Regions from separate parts of the Homo sapiens genome. Here region 1 is linked to region 2. Evidence: promoter capture Hi-C in human tissues and cell types (Jung and others, 2019). All regions are on one chromosome and are shown on one strand. The core of a region is centred on a gene start or on the middle of the fragment in contact, and the rest is flanking DNA. Distances in the headings are between cores, read along the strand shown. Region 1 overlaps LRRFIP1 (LRR binding FLII interacting protein 1). Region 2 holds the start of PRLH (prolactin releasing hormone).

Region 1 (6,781 bases), core at 1,731-4,230, 170 kb after region 2:
CTACAGCGGTGACAGCAGATTCTCTACTTTGTCATCATCCAGGGAGGAGAAGTTGGTTGGTTTCCATTTAAATCTTTCACATTCTCTTCAGAAACCGCAGATTTTGTAGCATGCAATCTTGTGTGTGTGGATTCAGCTCTACTTTTCTCTTTCGGTGTCTGTTTGACGGATTTTTGTTTGGGTAGCTGTGTTATTGACGTGAAAAGCAGCAGTTAACATGAGCTCCTTCATTCAGATGTACTCCAGTGTGCTGCGTTTGACCACACCAGCTCGAATGTGAATTGTGGCATTCAGCTGGCTGCAATGAAAGGACGTGTTTTTGTGTATATTTTCTAATTAGAATTAATCAAAAGGAAAAAAATAATTAGAAGAATGCTCTTGAATTCTTGAGAGTTTCTGAAAACAGAACTACTTTGAAGAGTACATGCAAACTTTGTGGTGGTTTCTTGGGCATGGACTAGACTTGGAAGGAAAATCCAGAGTCTCATCCAAATCCACATGTTTACACAACAGAGTTCCTTCCCATTCTCTACAAACATGCATCGGTCTTGATAAACATAATTTCTAAATTGTTTAAGAGCCCTAAAATTGCTAAGGCTTGTTGGTGTTTGTTTAGGTTCACATTTACTCAGCAAAATTGGGACTAGTTTAGGTAGGAAAATCAAGCAGGCCCTGGGATCACAAAGCTAAGCAGAGGAGGTGGGTGCTCTCCAGGCACTGACATCTAGAACAGAAGCCACCGGCACCGGAGACCAGTACAGGAGTGAACAGATGAGTAGATAGAATGGGAGGGAGACACTGGTTTTGCCAGGAAAAAAGATGTGAGCTGAACCTTAATAAATAGGAAGGGCCAGGTGTGGTGGCTCACACCTATAAATCCCAGCACTTCGGGAGGCCGAGGTGGGCAGACCATGAGGTCAGGAGATAGAGACCATCCTGGCTAACACGATGAAACCCCGTCTCTACTAAAAATATAAAAAATTAGCTAGGTGCGGTGGCACATGCCTGTAGTCCCAGCTACTCGGGGGGCTGAGGCAGGAGAATCGCTTGAACCCAGGAAGCAGAGGTTGCAGTGAGCCAAGATTGCACCACTGCACTCCAGCCTGGGCGACAGAGTGAGATTCCATCTCAGACAAACAAACAAACAAACAAACAAACAAATAGAACAAATGAAAAGAATAGGAACTAACCAGGTAGAGCCTAGAGGGGAAGCTCTTCAAGGTAAGTAGCCATTTGAGCAGAGCAGAGGCCGCGCAGAATGGGCAGAACCCAGGAGAGGTGCCATGTGGCTGAGCACAGGGTGCTGTTGGAGCTGTTCCGTGAACCTGGTGACTCCAGTAGCAGCTCCCACGCTGAAATCAGAAAATGAAATCTATGCAATTCCTCTGCGATTTCCTTTAGCCACTCCCATGTATCATTGACCTCATTAAAATGCTTCTAGAAGAAATAGCTCTGACCCTTCCCCGCCCTGTCCCCAATTTCCAGCCCCTATTCTCGTTTCCCTCCCGGGGGGTTGGGGGGTATCTTTTTCTTGCCAGGGCACTTCTTCCTCACCTCTTCACCCCTTGTCCAACCCCTTCATGTCCAGGGAGACTGCAGAAGGTGCTGGCAGCTCCATGGCGCCCACTGCTTGCCACCTTTCTCAACCCTTCCCATAGTCCCCCAGTCTGTAATAAATCCCCCCACTGTAAGCTGATGGCCCTTCTGTCCCCCAATATGTGAATTTTGACTCAGTATATGATCAGCTGTGAACACCAAAGCATCGGTGGGTTTAACACCTTGAAAAAGGCTTTGGGCATTTTCTTAATTCAAGAGATTTTGCTGTTGCAGAGGGCACTTAGTCATTAAGAAAACTTCATTTCCAACTCATTTTCGATAAGCTGAGTTACTTGCTCTAAAATAAAAGATGGCAATAAATATCTCATCTTTGGATATGAACGATTCACCCAAGTTCAGCCTGCATCTGACTCACTTCAGTCCATTTAAGAGAAATAACCCACATCCAAAGGGTTAAACATCAGAATGAGAGCTGACTCATTCAAACAGGGCCACATGTGAACTCGCCCTGAGCCCTGTGTGCCCGTGATTTGCTGCCCGAGGGCTCTTGTACTCACCCACCCTCAGAACCTTCCTGGAAATTGTGCTCTGTAGACATCTATTGCTGCCCAGTACGTGGTGCGTTTAATTTTATTTAAATATAATAATGGAAAGGTATCAGTGTAGAATGTAGTATTGATGACTCTTCCTAATATCAATTAAAATTTATTTCAATATTTAATATCAACTAAAATTAAATATTTTTTTCTGTGCGTGAACTCAAAAGTCCTAATTTGGCCCCATCTCCTAGTTTTGTCAGTTGCCTGGCCCAGCCGTCTTTATTTCCTTCTGACCCTCGTTCTCTCCCTCCCCCGTGAGTGCATGCCTGTTACTGTTTTGGTTGTATAAGGTAATCGTCTCTGAACTCACTGGACTGATGTACCTTTGCGATGCCGTGAGGGTGTGAGCCTCTCTCTCCTCTCTGCTGCCCATTTGCTCTGATTACAGGGACTCTCCGGCTCCAGCCTTGGGCTTGCCGGTGGTGGCCTGGCTCCCACACCCCTGTCTGCCCCAAATGGAAGCTGGGTCTGTCTCCTTTTCACATCACTTTGTCGCTCCTTCCCTTTCCTTCTGTGCATCACTTTAATTGCTGATTACATTTAGTGGATAGTTCAGCCTCCTCTACACAAAGTCACAAGAGCAAAGCTTAGCAACTGTTTTAATTGGCTTGACTAGTTTGCTAAGACTTTTGTCAATCTTTTAGAAAAACCATGTCAAATAAGTTAGAACCTATATAGAAAAGGAGACTTAAGGAAAAGGAGGGTTTTATTAAATGCATATTTTCAAAAACTCGAGTCCAAAAAATTGGTCTCTTGGGTCTCTCCTCCTTTTCCAGCAATTGTTCCCCATTTGGGGTTTCATTTGTTTTTTTAAAAATATTTTTTCTCTTGTAAATGTGTCCAGGAAGCAATTTGGAAGGTTTTTGTGCCTAATCTGCCTCCTTGGTCCCTGAGAAGTGGACAGAACAGTGTTATTCCTTTGGCTGGGTCTCCCCGCTGTTTCCTGTTTTTACAAGGTCAGGTTCAGGTCCGGCCCTGAGGTGCTTGGCCTGTTAGCTATAGGTATCGAGTCTTATTCTAATCCAAGGAAGTCGGTGTCAGAGGTGAAAGTACACGTCCTATTTGGAGGTTGAACTGTCCCTCTCCCTTGCATGTCGACTGGAGCTGCTGAGTGATCACCGCCTGGCCGTGCACCTTGCCTGACTTGCTCAGTGTGCCCTGGAAATGAGTCCAGATTCTGTCCCGTGGCACAGTCTCTGGACACTGGGAGCTGCCCTTGTGTCCCAGCCTGTCCCTTCACCAGCACTGCCTCCCCCTGACGTGTGTGCTAGGCAGGATTCTCCTTTGACAGGGCTAGACCGCGGCTCCTCTGGGGGTGCCTCCCACACCAGCTGAGGCAGCCTTGCAGTGACTCCCTTTGTGTCTTGAAGACTGTCGCTGGGCCCCTGGCATAGAAATAAAGACTCTTCCTGCTCCTGTCTTCATGTGTGGACATCTGCGTATTGAATACTGCCAAGTGTGTCGTTAACCTTGGATTTGAGCTGTGGGTTTTGTTGCTGTTGTTGTGTTGACCTTGTCACCATTCTGTCTCATCCCCTGACCCTTTCTTCCAGGAATGCCTGAAATGACTAGAAATGATCGTGTTTTAAAGATGCTGGGAAGTTTACTGTTTTAAAGTTAAAAATCATCTCAGTTATCTTTCTTGTAAATTTTGGATTTGCATCTATCAAATTTGCAGAAAACACGGTGCCTCGATCGGTTTGTTTCTGTTTAACCACTGTACAGCAGTTGGCTATGGTGAATGCTGAAACTATCGTGATGGCCTTTTGCTGTCATTTGTTGCTGTTTTTTCAAGGCTTTTAAAACCTGCCATTTGCTTTCATCCTCCAGCCCTCCTGTCTGTACAGCGCTGCCCGGCCTTCGGGGAGTTACCGGGTGCGTGTGCTGCCCACCCTGCTGCCCCGCACCCCCTCCCACTGTGCATGCACCGCCCCCACCAAGCCCAGAGCCGGGGATGTGCCTGTTCCCAGCCCCCTGGGGGAAGTTGCACCTTCACGTGGAGCTTACATGTGCCAGTGGGGAATGTCTGTCCCCTTTGGCCAGATCTGGGTTTTCTCTCCCCCGATTGTTGACTGTAGCTGCCACACTGCTCTGTCTCCAGGAAGCCTTGTGTTTGCTGGGATCGTTAGGCAGGAATGGAACAACAGCAATGTTTACTTTACCTATTGGCAGAAAGAATGGTGGCTTTTTAATGCTTTGGTAACCTGGACAGATACTAATCCATGTTACTATATTACTTTGGAAATTTCCAGTTTTAAATATAAGTACTTATGCTATGCAAGAAACGTAAAGTAAATACTCAAAGTAGCTATATTGTCTTGTTAATAACCTTTTTTTTTTTTTTTTTTTTTTTTGGAGACAGAATCTCCCTCTGTCACCCAGGCTGGAGTGCAAGGGCACGATCTCGGCTCAGTGCAACCTACGCCTCCCAGGTTCAAGTGAGTCTCCTGCCTCAGCCTCCTGGGTAGCTGGGATTACAGGCACGTGTCACCACACCCAGTTACTTTTTGTGTTTTCAGTAGAGACGGGTTTCACCACGTTGGCCAGGCTGGTCTCAAACTCCCGACCTCAGGTGATCTGCCTGCCTCGGCCTCCCAGAGTGCTAGGATTACAGGCATGAGCCACCACACCCAGCCATTAATAACTTTCTGAATTTCCATCAGATTGCATACTTATGTGTTTGATATATTAATAAATGGCTGAGCAAACTAGTATGTCCTCAAGGGAAAATAGGGAAATTAAAGTTCCTTTATACCGGGCAAAGTTTGACATCACCATTTGTGGCAGTGTAAGCTCCTGTTTACCCACGTTGATTAATTAAGTAGCATTTTCCAGTTAACCAATTACTCTTTCTTCTACTTAGCAACTTTTAAAGGGTTATAAAATATTTAACATTAAAACTATAATTAACATAATTTGATATTTTATCCCAAAGTCACTTCACATAAGAGTAATTTTCTAAGCATCAAGTATGAGAATGCCATGACAAAATTCAGGATGTTCGAATTATCTGCTCATTTTAACCTGGATTAACAAGTTTTCACTTAGGCCTGGGATGTTTTCCAAAGTAATAGATTTAAATGGTCTGTTGGAGATTACATTGCACACCTCCTGACAACGACTAAAACCGGTCTCTCCTCATTTCCTTGTCGCACTCTGCAACCCTTTGAAGAGCTGGAAAGGTGGTTCTCAGCCTCCCCTGCATGCTTTTTCAGGTCATGCTCCTGGCACGTGTCAGTTTTTCACAGCTCACGTTTTCAGCACTTTCTGGGCACTCTTGGAGAAAGGAAGAGCGCCCATCCTGACAGTCTCTTTTGGTCGCAGGCGTCTGTGTTGGATGAAGGCAGCTTCGGTGGGACCCGACGGGGCAGCACCTCCGGCTCCCGTGCTGTAAGGCGCTTTCGGTGATACCTCCTTTCCCCCGTGCCTGCTGCATGGCCTGGGGATGCTCGCTGGGCAGGGTCCAGCCGTGGGGGGTGACTGGCCATTCTCAGGAGGAAGCGCCGAGTCACCGGGCTAACCGCCACCTTCCATTGTAATGAAGGTCACAAATAATGTGAATCAGGAAACCTCTGGTTGTTGGTTTCATGTCCTCACTCATCAGGGAGAGTAACTTGCACTGAGTTTCATCTGCTCTCTCTGCAGCACGCCAACCATACTAACAGGTGGTGAAACCGTCTTCGGTTAATAAAAACGGGAAAAGGACAACTTGACAGACCACACATCATTCTCGTCCCTGGATAGTTGAGGAAGAGGAACAAATTTTAAAACTTGGAATGTTACGCATATTTCATTCCCTGTTTGTATTTTGTTGTCTCTCTACCTCTTTCTTCAATTTGAAATGATAGGCTCAGCTATGAGGGTAAAGATGTAATAGGTGCACCATAAACATTTGTGAATGAATGCGTGAGAAAAGCAACAAGGTAGAAAAATGAGATGGAACCCGTGGAAGTGGGGAGACGAATTTGCGTGTCCCAGGGACCTGTGGAAACGGAGCGTTCAGTGCTAACCGGTGCTCCCTGGCGGTGGATCTCCTGTATTCAGAGGCTCCTCCCCAATCCTATAAAAATGTCTTCAAGCCCTCCAGGAAATAGAAAGGTTTACTAAGAAATACTTGAAATGCTTTTATAATTTTGCTTTTGAAGTTTATCAGCTACTTACTTGACTAAATCCAGTTTTATGACTTACTATGCTATTTGTCCAGCCATCATGGATATTCATGAATTCTTATGGTGTAAGCCAGTCTAACCTACAGTTTTCTTTAAAATGTAATTTATGAATATTAAATCCAGTAGTTGACATAGCATTCGTTTTTGTCGACAACTGATTACACATTTATCAACTTTTATATTACATAAGTTGTTCAGTATTTTGCAGCCCACTATATAACATATTTTTCCCAGTTGGTAAACATTTTCATAGGCCATTAGAAAGCTCATAAACCATGCATGAAGAATGAAATAGCCCTGCCTATGATGTGATGGATAAAGCACAACTAATGATTTTCTTTTGTCAGAAAAGAGGGAGAATACTAATTCAAGAGAAATTTCCCCCAAGCACCAGGTGGTTTTCTGGTGGCTTCAGTAGAGAGTCTAAGATCTGGCAGGACGGAGGGCTCCTGATGC
Region 2 (6,472 bases), core at 1,832-4,331:
ACGAAGAAGAGAAGCTAATGTGTTTTAAAACCACTTGGTCCAAATGAAATTATATAACCCAGGAAGGAACAAATCGCATCGCTGATGAGTTTTGTTTTGTGTTTTTTTTTTTCAATAAAGGAACGAGAAGAGACACAGGCTCGCTCCTGATGCCGCCCTGTGAGGGAGACAGGCTGGCTTGGGGGAGGGCACCTGGGGGTGCCGGCTTCGTCCTCTCGGGGGCTATAAAAGGGGAACAGAGGCTCCCGCCTCCTCGGCTCCACTGCACCCGTAGCCAGGACAGCTCCTCTACCACACTCGAGAACGGTGAGTTGCACATCCAGGCGCTGGAGCTTGGGCCCTCTGCTTTGCTACTTTGTAAAATCTTCCCTTGCTGTCTGAGTGTGGGTCGGGTTGAGACCCTGCCTGCTCTCCTGGCAGCTGAGGCTAGGCCTAAGCAGGAGAGGCAGAGACGGCTGGCCCCTGGGTTCTTGCATCCAAAGCCACCCTGCCCTCCCAGGGCACCAAGGCTCCGGCGCTGTCCATGGTGGAGACTCCAGACAAAGACGTCCCATTCAACTCCGCTGACCAGGAAATCCCACGGGGCAGCCGGCCAAAGTCTCCACCTCTCAGGGAGGCAGGTCTTTGGGGATCAGGAGCCAAGTGAGCATCGTTAGCATTCTCGGACACCCCTCAGGTGGCGTGGGTCCCGTGCCAGAGGAAATGCAAACGGCCAGCCTGCTGGGATGAATCTCTTTATCACTCTTCAAGGTGGCACCTCCATTTCCTCTAGACTGGGGAACCCCCCACCCCACCTAGCATGGGACGCCCCTCCAGGTCTCTAAAAAGGAAAGGTGTAGGCATTTTAAATTGTTCTGATGGAGAGCACTTTCTGTGGGGCTCAGGGAGGGGCTGGAAAGTCAAGGTCGGCAGGGGGATCCTTCCCAGAGCAAGATGGAGCTGTCGGGCATCTTCCCATGGCACCCAAAGTGCCACAGGTGGAGGAAGGAGGAGGGGTGCCTGCAGCAGGTGTTTCCAGGTCTCCCATGATGGATGCTGTTTAGGCATTTCAGCACCTCCACTCCAGTGGGGTGGAAGGGGCTTTCCATGCACCTGGTGTCATCCACGGCAGCCCCCTCCTCCCATCACCGATAGGAAGTGGCCCTGCCTTGTGAGAAGAGGTCCCAGATGCTACAGGCTTACCTTGGAGCCTCAGAAGACTGGATCTAGCGTCATGGCAAGGGTGAGTGGGCTTACTTAGGGCAGAGGATGCAGACTCATTCTACGACACGCAGCTGTCGGCTGACATTCCCCAGCAGGGCTGGGCTGGCAGGCTGGAACCAGGCATTAGGAGGCGCTGAGATGAATGTGGGAAGGGGCCGTGCACCGGATTCCAGCCCCTGAGCCTGGTCCAGGCTTGGCACTCCCCAGCTCCCCAACCATGTCTGAGGTTGAGCAAGGGGCTGCCTCCACCTGTGCAGCTCCCTGGGCACCTCCCCACAAACCTGCTGTCCTGGGTGTGCAACATGCACAGCCGTGCAGAGGCCTGCTGCACCTTCTGATCCCTTAACACAGGCGGACAGACGGACCCAAGGCTGTTCCATGACAGCCCCCCTTTATAACGCGTAGCTCACACCTCCTGAGGGCTTTCTGATCATGAGCATCAATGTACATGTGACCGATCCCGTTAGAGGCTGACGCGCACAGAAGCATCTCACTTAACACCTCATTGCGCAGAGGAGAGAATGGGGTCACAGGCGGGTGGGGGACCATGCAGAGAGCCAGGTTTAACTGCTGTTTCTGTGCTTATTCCCACCTCAGCACAGATCAGAGGAACACGTGGAGATCTATGTGGCTATGTGCACGCGCACATCTACACACATACATACACATCTACACACTCACACACATCTACACACATACATACACTCACACACAACTACACACACATCTACACACATACACACACATCTACACTCATACACATCTACACACACTCACACACATCTACACACGTACACACACACATCTACACACACATCTACACACATACACATCTACACACATACATACACACATCTACACACATACACTCACACACCTACACTCATACACACATACACTCACACACACATCTACACATGTACACTCACACACCTACACACATACACATCTACACACACTCACACACACATCGACACACACACATCTACACACATATCTACACACATACACACATCTACACACATACACACACACACAGCTACACACACATCTACACATACACACACATCTACACACATACTCACACAACTACACACACATCCACACACATACATACACTCACACACAACTACACACACCTACACATACACACATCTACACACACACATCTACACACATACACACAAACCTACACACATACACACATCTACACACAGACACATCTGCACACATACACACGCATCTACCCAATACACACAGACACACTACACACATACACACACATCTACACACACACACATCTGCACACATACACACATCACACACTCACACACATCTGCACACATACACACACATCTACACACATACACACAAACCTACACACATACACACATCTACACACAGACACATCTGCACACATACACACGCATCTACACAATACACACAGACACATCTACACACATACACACACATCTACACACATACACACATCTGCACACATACACACATCTACACACATACACTCACACACATCTGCACACATACACACACATCTACACACATACACACACACCTGCACACATACACACATCTACACACATACACACACATATCTGCACACATACACACACACAGGCACCCATGTGCACACACCACACCCTCTTGTACACATATACATACACAGCTGTGCACTCACATGCACACAGGCTCATGCACATACTTCTCTCTCACACACAGTGCTCACTCTACCCAAGGTCCCAGCTCCGTGCACACGCACCCTGATGCCTGTGTGACGCTGCTCCTGCCCCTTCTCCCCCAGGCCGTGTCCTCCTCATTTGGATCTCCCCTCCAGCGGGGCCTCCTCGGAGGAGCCAAGGGATGAAGGTGCTGAGGGCCTGGCTCCTGTGCCTGCTGATGCTGGGCCTGGCCCTGCGGGGAGCTGCAAGTCGTACCCATCGGCACTCCATGGAGATCCGCAGTGAGTGCCTGGACCCCTGTCAGCCTCCCTTACCCCACCCTGCCTCACCCCAGAACCTAGTGCAGCCTGGTCGCTCGAGAACCTGGCAGGAACGGGGTGCGCGGGAGGAAAGGGAAGTCAGTCTTGGTGCTTTTTTGAACTCCTGCTTCCCAAAGCCAGCCCACGCCCAGAAATGGCCTCGCCAGAACCTCTGGGTGCCTGTTCCTCGGGTGGCTCCCAGCATGGCCTGGCGACTGGGCTGAGAGGCCCTGCCTGTGCACTCTGCCCCGCTGCCTCTGGGAGCACAGCACACCCTGGGGACACGTGCCCATGGTCTGCTCCAGCTCTTTCCTTTCCAGCCCCTGACATCAATCCTGCCTGGTACGCCAGTCGCGGGATCAGGCCTGTGGGCCGCTTCGGTCGGAGGAGGGCAACCCTGGGGGACGTCCCCAAGCCTGGCCTGCGACCCCGGCTGACCTGCTTCCCCCTGGAAGGCGGTGCTATGTCGTCCCAGGATGGCTGACAGCCAGCTTGTCAAGAAACTCACTCTGGAGCCTCCCCCACCCCACCCTCTCCTCTCCTTCGGGCTCCTTTCCCTTCAATCCTAATAAAAGCTCTGGTCTTCAGTTACACATTCACGACTGTGTGGTGGTGACTCTGAAGTTGTTCCCTCCTGGGACATTAGACTAGAAAGAACCTCAGAGCCCAGCAACTTCTTTGGAAGAAAAGGCTTTGTGACTTGGCAGAGGGCACTTGGCACTGAGTTGGGGCGCTGGGTCTACCCTTGGTCACCGGCAGCCCACAGCCACCCCCACACCCAAGCTGCCCTGAGTGGCTGCCCAGGCTGTCCACTGCAGAAGGCCAGGAGGTGCCACGCGTCATACTCTGCAGGACACTGTCCCCATAGGACGGTAGCACAGCCCCCAGCCTGAGCCCTGGGCAGCCCCTCAACTTCAGTCCTTTTTATTTAGACTATTTTTCAGAGCAGCTTTAGGTTCACAGCAAAATTGAGTAGAAGGTACAGAAAGTTCCCATCCACCCCCTTCCCCCACATCCGCACAGCCTCCCCCATGATCAACACCCCCACCGAGGGTGCTTTTGTCCCAGTCGAGGAACCCACACTGACACATCCCCATCCCCAACCAGCGTATGTCAGAGCCCACTCTCCACGCTGTGCGTCCTGTGGGTTTGCACAAATGTACAACAACACGATGTGGCATCACGCAGAGTCGTTTAACTGTCCTAGAAGTCCTCTGGGCTCCCCCTACTCATCCCTGCACCCCGCAACCCCTACAACTGCTAGTCCTCTCATTGCAGTCTGTCTTGCCTCCCTCTTACTCAGGGAAGATGCATCATGGATTGTTTCTGACCCATGGCAGGGAGACTTGAACCTAGATTGCTCCCACGCCACGTGCGTCCCTTTCAAATCACACGGGGATGTCTCCACATCCTGCCTCAGGTGTAGCTTAGGTTGGCATTGGGGGCACACTTGCACCACCTGGGAGACTGAGTTCATCCCGTGAATCACTGAGCCTCAGTTTCCACAACTGCATGCCACAGAACAGCAACGCTTACCTCATTCCTCAGCTCCGTGGGCGTGGCACCTGCACGCCTGCCGGCACAGGGTGGGTGCTCTGTGAGTGCAAGCCCCTTCCCCAAGGCCCATCCTCCACCCAGCCATGTAACAGGCTTCACCAGCTCCCTCCAACCCAAAGCTTGGCCTGGACTCTTGCTGGACCCTGCCTGCAGATGCTGATCTCAGGAGCCCATCCTGACCACAGCCCTCTTGGCCATCCATGCTCAGAGGGGCCAGTGGCAAGGCCCAGACCACCTACACGGGGCTGAGTTGGGGTGACTGCACCTCCCCAGCTACAGGGGAGCCCCTCCAGCCCTGAGCCACCTCGCCAGGGTAGAGTGAGCCTGCAGGAACAGGAAGGGGGGCAAGGTCTGTTCCGAAGGCAGCAGGGGCTGGGTCAGGCCTTAAAGAGGCCACAGCCCTCAAAAAGTTAAACACGGAGTTATCAAACGACCCAACAATTCGCCCCAGGTGTAGACCCTGGAGAACTGAGGGCAGGTGCTCAGCACATCACAGCAGCGTTTACAGCAGCACCCTTCCAAGTAGCCAAAGGGTGGACATGACCTGAATGCCCATTGCCTTAGTCAGTTCGGGCTGCTCTAATAAGATAGCATAGGCACAGAGGCTCAGCCAGTAAACACTCACTCCTCACAGTTCTGGGGGCAGGAAGTCCAAGATCAAGGTGCTGGCTGATCCGACACCTTGATCCGACACCATCTTCCTGGTTGACAGACACCGTCTTCTCGTTGTATCCTCACATGGCAGAGAGCAGAAACAGGAAGCAAGCTCTCTAGCCTCTTCTTATGAGGGCACTAATTTCATCCATGAGGGTTCCACCTTCATGACCTAATCTCCTCCCAAAGACCCGATCTCCTAATACCACCATAATGGGGGGAGGATTTCAACATATAAATTTGCAGTGGCGGGGACACAAACATTTCATAACACCCATCAACAGAAGAATAGAAAAACACAGCGTGGTCTATCCATGCAATGGAATATTACTCAGCCAGGAAAAGGAATGGACCACTGATACATGCCACAACACGGATGAACCTTGGAAGCATCATGCTAAGTGAAAGAAGCCAGGCACAAGAATTCAAATGTTGTATGATTCTGTTTATATAAAAACGTTGTATGACATTGCATATTCTATGGAAGCAGATTCATGGCTGTCAGGGGATAGGGAAGAGGGGTGGGGGGATGACTGCTTAATGGATATGGGGGTTCCCTTTTGGAGGTGGTGAAACGTCTTAGAACTGGACCACGGCAGTGGCTGAAGAACAGAGTGAATGTACTAGAAGCATATTTTCAGCATCCTTCTCCCACGAATAAGGCCAGTCTCCTACATAGCCATAAAATCATCATACCTGAACAAACCGTTGTAGTAATTTCACAATATCATCTAGTTTTTAGTCTGTACTCAGAAATCCCCACATGCAGCAAGACAGTCTCCTTTTTCCCCCACCGGGCTCCAATCTGCATTCACAGTCCGTTGTTTCTCTTTGATTTCCGACCAGTTAATTTTTTATGTTGTCCTGGTGTTGAATTTTTCAAGCACCCAGATGAGTCGTCTTGGAAAATGCTCCACCTGTGTGATTTGTAAGTTGTTCCCCCAAGGTGATGTCCCTGTTCTTCCGTTCCCTGTACTTCCTGTCATCAGAGAGGGGCATCCAGGATCTTGCCTGGATTCAGGTCGCGCACTGTGGACCCAAAAACTGTGTCCTTCCCACTGC

Evidence for each region. Contacts are between HindIII fragments. The study calls those that stand out against the background at their distance.
Region 1: a contact is called between a fragment that was not itself captured here and the fragment with the promoter of PRLH in region 2, in 1 of the 25 tissues and cell types used here (ovary).

What each region holds. Positions count from the first base shown.
Region 1 is chr2:237,729,788-237,736,568 of GRCh38, forward strand. It overlaps LRRFIP1 (LRR binding FLII interacting protein 1), which reads left to right. Exons shown (of 24, transcript NM_001137550.2): 9 at 3,987-4,031; 10 at 5,481-5,546. Among named protein-coding and RNA genes, the nearest start is that of RBM44, 66 kb to the right of the region's middle. The HindIII fragment of the contact is 4,390 bases long and covers 786-5,175 here.
Region 2 is chr2:237,563,493-237,569,964 of GRCh38, forward strand. It overlaps PRLH (prolactin releasing hormone), which reads left to right and starts at 3,082. Exons shown (of 2, transcript NM_015893.1): 1 at 3,082-3,181; 2 at 3,520-3,683. The coding sequence starts at 3,082. The coding sequence ends at 3,683. RefSeq lists an enhancer at 1-431. The HindIII fragment of the contact is 10,563 bases long and covers 1-6,472 here.